Linked DNA regions of Homo sapiens: region 2 is linked to region 1. The links are contacts of gene promoters, found by promoter capture Hi-C in blood cells and fetal thymus (Javierre and others, 2016). All regions are on one chromosome and are shown on one strand. The core of a region is centred on a gene start or on the middle of the fragment in contact, and the rest is flanking DNA. Distances in the headings are between cores, read along the strand shown. Region 1 holds the start of ARPC1A (actin related protein 2/3 complex subunit 1A). Region 2 overlaps SMURF1 (SMAD specific E3 ubiquitin protein ligase 1).

Region 1 (2,829 bases), core at 226-2,725:
CACCACTGCACTCCAGTCTGGGTGACAGAGTGAGACTCTATCTCCAAAAATAAGTAAATAAAAATAAATGAAAATTAGCCCAGTGTGGTGGCACACGCCTGTAGTCCCAGCTACTCAGGAGGCTGAGGTGGGAGGATCTGTTAAGCCCAGGAGGTCGAGGCTGCAGGAAAAAAAAAAAAAAGGAAGACAACAACCACAGTTACCCACTCCCTAACAGGACAAAAACACCTTCCTGACTGATGCCCCTCCTCTGTTTTTAGATACCTGAAAACCCAGGCCCTATGTGAAACCACAAGACTAGATAAAATTGAGGAGAGAGGGCAGAACTAAGATAATCTCGGCAATTTAAGCTACGAGTTGACATAGACAGAAGGTTCCAAAGCTGCAGGAGAACAGATGGCTTTATAATCAAAGATTCTAAGCTATAACTGATTAAGTGCCTATCATGTTCCCAGCAGTGTTGTAAATACCGGGATGGGGCTAGAAACATAAATAAGGCTGACACCATTCTGGTCTTCAAGTCTGGAGGGTTGGTGTTTGGGGAGAGTGGAGGAGATAGAAAAGGAAAGGAAGACGGATATGCATAGAATGCCCAGAAGCAGTAATAATAGCTAATATTTATTGATCACCTACTCTCGGCCAGGAACTATTCTAAGCAATTTATGCAAATAAGCTCACTTGATTCTTAGCAAAACGGTAAGAATCTTTTTATTGCAGATGAGGAAACAGGCGCAGAGAAGCATCTTCCCAGGATCACTCAACAAAGTGGTGGTGCCAGGACTGGCATAAAAGATTCCACTAAATGAATAAGAGCGCCGAGAAGGGTGCAATTTTGACTTGGGGGAAGGCGGTACTCATGCAGGGAAATCTTAAAAGAACTCGGGAGAAGGTTTTTCTCGAGATCGAGAAGGTTCCCCATTAACCGAAGGATTGAGGGCTGCCCTAGAGAGCAGGCAAACATCCTATGGGCGCCTACTGTATGCAGGGATCGACTCTAGACACTAAAGAGATGAATAGTCCCGCGGGTCGCTCGATTACGGGAGATCCTCCTACTTGACACAATTTTAGAGACGGTGACAAATGCCCCCAGCAGAGGTGCAAGTAGGACCCTGGGGGCGCAGAAGGGGCCGTTAATTCGGGCATCGGAGGCGGCTAGGAGCTCGAACATCCTGAGAAAAGCTGCAGGGGATCCACGGAGAAAGGGGATCCCCGCCCCCTCAGGAGGCCCCGGCAGGGAGACCCGGCCGCGCCTCAGCCTCGGGGCCCCGCGGCCTGAGCCCCCGTCTCACTGCCCCCGCGGCAAGTCCGGCGCCAGGCCTGGACAAGAGAGGCCGACAGGGTGAGACGCTCGCCCCTGCTGGCCGTTACCTGGGATCGGGGGAGTCCGGACGGGCTCGGAGCGGAGGATTCGCGGACTCTGGGCAGTCGACGCGAACAGGCTCCGTCGGGCGCGGGCGGAGGACGGAAGCCCAGAGGGAGCGGCTGACAGATCCCGGAAGTGGACACGGCGCCTGCGCGTTGCGACCGCGCGGACGGTCCGCGCATGCGCACAGCTCGGGCGCGCAGTCCGGGGTTAGGCAGGCTGCAGTGGAGGAGGGTACGCCGTTCCATTGGCGTGGTACTGTCGGCGGCCCTTCAGAGGAGATGCTGCCCCACGGAACGCCTGGCAAGTGCTGGCGAAGCGGCATGGGCGTCCCACTCCGTTCCTCAACCAATTTCCTCACAATCGCGAGCCGAAGTGTGGCGCTTTGGCAGTTTCGCAAGGTCTTTTGTCAGGAGATGAGTTACTGAGGATTGGGGGTCTTTGGAGCTCTTGGACCTGAAGAACGATTAAGTTTTTCTCCCTTCAGAGAGCCAAGGTCAGAGCCAGTCTACCTCAGCGCTGCTCCCTGCAGGGAGCCTCCGCCCCCGCCGTGCTCCCTCTGTGGAAAGCCCCTGAAGCCCCCCAGGAACTTTCTCGACCCTTCCTGGGACAGAATCCCCTGCTCCCAAGCAGTTCCCTGCTCCCAAGATGGCGCAGCAGGGATAAAAGGGTTGGGGGAACTTGGCAAGGCCCCCAATTCACAGAGGACAGAGCCTGCCCCGCAGATGCAGCCTCCAAGAAATGCCCTGATCCCCACCTGCAATCAGGCTGCTGCCCTTGAACCCTAGAAATTCTGGAGCATCCCCAGCCCCCACAGATGGGGCTAATCGAGAGCTTTTCTTTTTTCTTTTTTTTTAGACAGGTTCTCAACCTGTAGCCCAGGCTGGAGTGCAGTGGCGCGATCATAGCTAACTGCAGCCTGGAACCCCTGGGCTCAAGCGATCCTCCCGCCTCAGCCCCCCGTGGAGCTGGGACTACAAGTGCACACCACCACGCCTGGCTAATTTTTATTTTTTGGTAGAGACAGGGTCTTGCTGTGTTGCTTAGGCTGGTCTTGAACTCCTGGGCTCAAGCGATCGTCCCTCTTTGGCCTCTCAAAGCCCTCAGATTACAGGTGTGAGCCACTGTGCCTGGCTAATTTTTATATTTTTTGTAAAGATGAGGTTTTCCTATGTTGTCCAGGCTGGTCTTGAACCCCTGGGCTCAAGCAATCCTCTAGCCTCTGCTTCCCAAAGCGATGTGAGCTCCCCCCCGCCGCCGCCCAGCGCCATGCCAGGCCAACCAAGGGCTTGTCTCCTTCCCTTTGGTATTGTAAGGTGAGGTTTATGTAGGTATACTTGTCAAACTCTCAATTTCAGACCCGCTGTGATCTTTTTGAGACGGAGCCTTTCTCTGTCGCCCAAGCTGGAGTGCAGTGGCGCGATCTCGGCTCACTGTAACCTCCGCCTCCCGGGTTCAAGCGATTC
Region 2 (2,999 bases), core at 51-2,550, 270 kb after region 1:
TTTTGCTGATTGAAATTATCCTGAAATTAGAGAACACGAATTGTGTGTTCTGTGTCACATGGATGGATGTGAGGTCTCATCTAGGTGTGGGTCTCCTCTCTCCTCTAGGGCTCCCTGACCCTTTTGCAAAGATTGTCGTGGATGGGTCTGGGCAGTGCCACTCAACCGACACTGTGAAAAACACATTGGACCCAAAGTGGAACCAGCACTATGATCTGTGAGTTGAATGTTCTGTAAGCCCCATGCGGAGCGGCAGGAAAGCAGGTGTCTACCTTTTACGAGAAACATCCAAGAGAAAAAAAAAAAAAGGATGACTTTTTATTGATAACAAAAGCGGATGGCCAAATGAATGTCTACATTGCCTAATTTTAGAATTCATGTACTTGGAAGTTCTTGCATTTTGTTACTTTCTTTTTTCTTTTTTTTTTTTTTTTTTTGAGACGGAGTCTCACTCTGTCACCCAGGCTGGAGTGCGGTGGCGTGATCTCAGCTCACTGCAACCTCCGCCTCCCGGGTACAAGTGATTCTCCTACCTCAGCCTCCCAAGTAGCTGGGATTATGGACATATGCCACCATGCCCAGCTAATTTTTGTATTTTTTAGTAGAGATGGGGTTTCACCATGTTGGCCAGGCTGGTCTTGAACTCCTGACCTCAAGTGATCTGCCCACCTTAGCCTCCCAAAGTGTTGGGATTACAGGCGTGAGCCACTGCGCCCGACTGCATTTGGCATGTTCATAGATTTTTATGGTTTGGTTTTGTACATGTGATCCTCAAACTTTTCAATCTCCTGGCCATTTTAGCAGAAAAAAAGGCCATAGTTTGTGAACTCCACATGCTACTGTTTTTCAGCAAAACCCTAAACCTAGTTGTAGTTTCTACCTAAAAAATGCATTTTTTTTTTTTTTGAGATGGAGTCTTGCTTTGTCGCCCAGGCTAGAGTGTGCAGTGGCGCGATCTCGGCTCACTGTGACCTCCACCTCCTGGATTCAAGTGATTCTCCTGCCTCAGCCTCCCAAGTAGCTGGAATTACAGGCATCCGCCAGCATGCCCAACTAATTTTTGTATTTTTAGTTGAGACGGGGTTTCACCATCTTGGCCAGGCTGGTCTCGAACTCCTGACCTCATGATCCACCCGCCTCAGCCTCCCAAAGTTCTGGGATTACAGGCGTGAGCCACTGTACCAGGCCTAAAAAATTCATTATTATGACTGTATGTTTCTGTTGACTTTGAAAATTTTTGCTTTTTAGTACATATATATTTTCTGCAAGAGAAAATATAGTTTTATATGATCAAAGCCATCAATTTCTTATAGTCATTCAAAAACTGGATTGTACTTTGAAGACCACTATTTTATTTTATTTTATTTTATTTTATTTTATTTTATTTTATTTTATTTTATTTTATTTTATTTTTTTTTGAGATGGAGTCTTGCTCTGTCGCCCAGGCTGGAGTGCAGTGGCGGGATCTCGGCTCACTGCAAGCTCCGCCTCCCGGGTTCACGCCATTCTCCTGCCTCAGCCTCCCAAGTAGCTAGGACTACAGGCGCCCGCCACTACGCCCGGCTATTTTTTGTAGTTTTAGTAGAGACGGGGTTTCACCGTTTTAGCCGGGATGGTCTCGATCTCCTGACCTCGTGATCCGCCCGCCTCGGCCTCCCAAAGTGCTGGGATTACAGGCGTGAGCCACCGCGCCCGGCCTATTTTATTTTTAAATTAAATTAAATTTTTTTTTCAAACAGAGTCTCGCTCTGTTGCCCAGGCTGGAGCGCAGTGGCGCAATCTTGGCTCACCGCAACCTCCTCCTGCTGGGTTCAAGCGATTCTCGATCTTCAGCCTCCCGAGTAGCTGGGATTACAGGTACCCGCCACCATGCCTGGCTAATTTTTATATTTTTAGTAGAGATGGGTTTCACCATGTTGGCCAGGCTGGTCTTGACCTTCTGACCTCAGGTGATCCACCTTGGCCTCCTGAAGTGCTGGGATTATAGGCGTGAGCCACTGCACCTGGCTGTGAAGACCACTATTTTATATGCACCCATGTTTTCATGTTCCTACTAAGATATTTTCATCAAAGTAATCCTGAAAGATTATTGTCTTTTAGTTAATACAAATTATACTGTATTTGGGTGGGATTTTTAAGAATTATATTCTAAGATTCAGTTTCAGTGACACTGAGGCTGTGTAAGTGGGTTGAGTTCCTCTCTCCGTTGACTTGCAGTGACAGTAAATGGAGGTTTAATGTCTTAGTGTCCTCTTGTGTACTTTGAATAGATCCGTAGGTTTGTAAGTAGTCCCTTGTCGCAAACCAGTATTCTGTATCAAACCTAATTGGTGAGAATTTATGAATCATGTTACTGTCCTATGCGACTATTAAAATATAGTAAATTTGCTGGGTGCAGTGGCTCACACCTGTAATCTAAGCACTTTGGGAGGCCGAGGCAGGAAGATCACCTGAGGTCAGGAGGTTGAGACCAGCCTGGCCAACATGGTGAAACCCCGTCTCTACTAAAAATACAAAAATTAGCCAGGTGTGGTGGCAGGTGCCTGTAATCTCAGCTGCTGGGGAGGCTGAGGCAGGAGAATTCCTTGAACCCAGGAGACAGGTTGCAGTGAGCTAACACTGCGCCATTGCACTCCGGCCTGGGCGACAAGAGCAAAATTCCGTCTCAAAAAAATAAAAAAATAAATAAAAATAAATAAAATATAGTAAGTCTGTTATAAGATTATTATCATCGTGTGGTTATCTACATTTGCCCCTTCCATAAGGAGCAAGGTAGTTCTTCTTCCCAGCTTGTTGAAATTAATGGATACGTATTTATTAAATGCCTGTTACATGTGTAATACAGAGGCAACATTATTTTATAAGGTTTCTTAAAGAGAAAATCTCAATGAGATATCATAATTCAGAAATACAATTAAAAGCTGGGCATAGTAGCTCATGCCTGTAATCCCAGCACTTTGGGAGGCCAAGGCAGGTGGATCACCTGAGGTTAGGAGTTC

The links. The method cuts DNA at HindIII sites, captures the fragments that hold promoters and counts their contacts. A CHiCAGO score of 5 or more calls a contact.
Region 2: a fragment that was not itself captured here is called in contact with the fragment with the promoter of ARPC1A in region 1 in 14 of 17 cell types (M2 macrophages, megakaryocytes, endothelial precursors and 11 more); the score reaches 14.7 in M2 macrophages.

What each region holds. Positions count from the first base shown.
Region 1 is chr7:99,324,544-99,327,372 of GRCh38, reverse strand. ARPC1A (actin related protein 2/3 complex subunit 1A) reads right to left here and starts at 1,475. Exons shown (of 10, transcript NM_006409.4): 1 at 1,369-1,475. It overlaps LOC105375421 (a long non-coding RNA gene), which reads left to right and starts at 1,565. Exons shown (of 4, transcript XR_927798.3): 1 at 1,565-1,859. RefSeq lists a silencer at 1,195-1,374 and an enhancer at 1,350-1,909. The HindIII fragment of the contact is 5,893 bases long and covers 1-2,829 here.
Region 2 is chr7:99,057,817-99,060,815 of GRCh38, reverse strand. It overlaps SMURF1 (SMAD specific E3 ubiquitin protein ligase 1), which reads left to right. Exons shown (of 18, transcript NM_181349.3): 3 at 109-217. Among named protein-coding and RNA genes, the nearest start is that of SMURF1, 85 kb to the left of the region's middle. The HindIII fragment of the contact is 4,291 bases long and covers 1-2,999 here.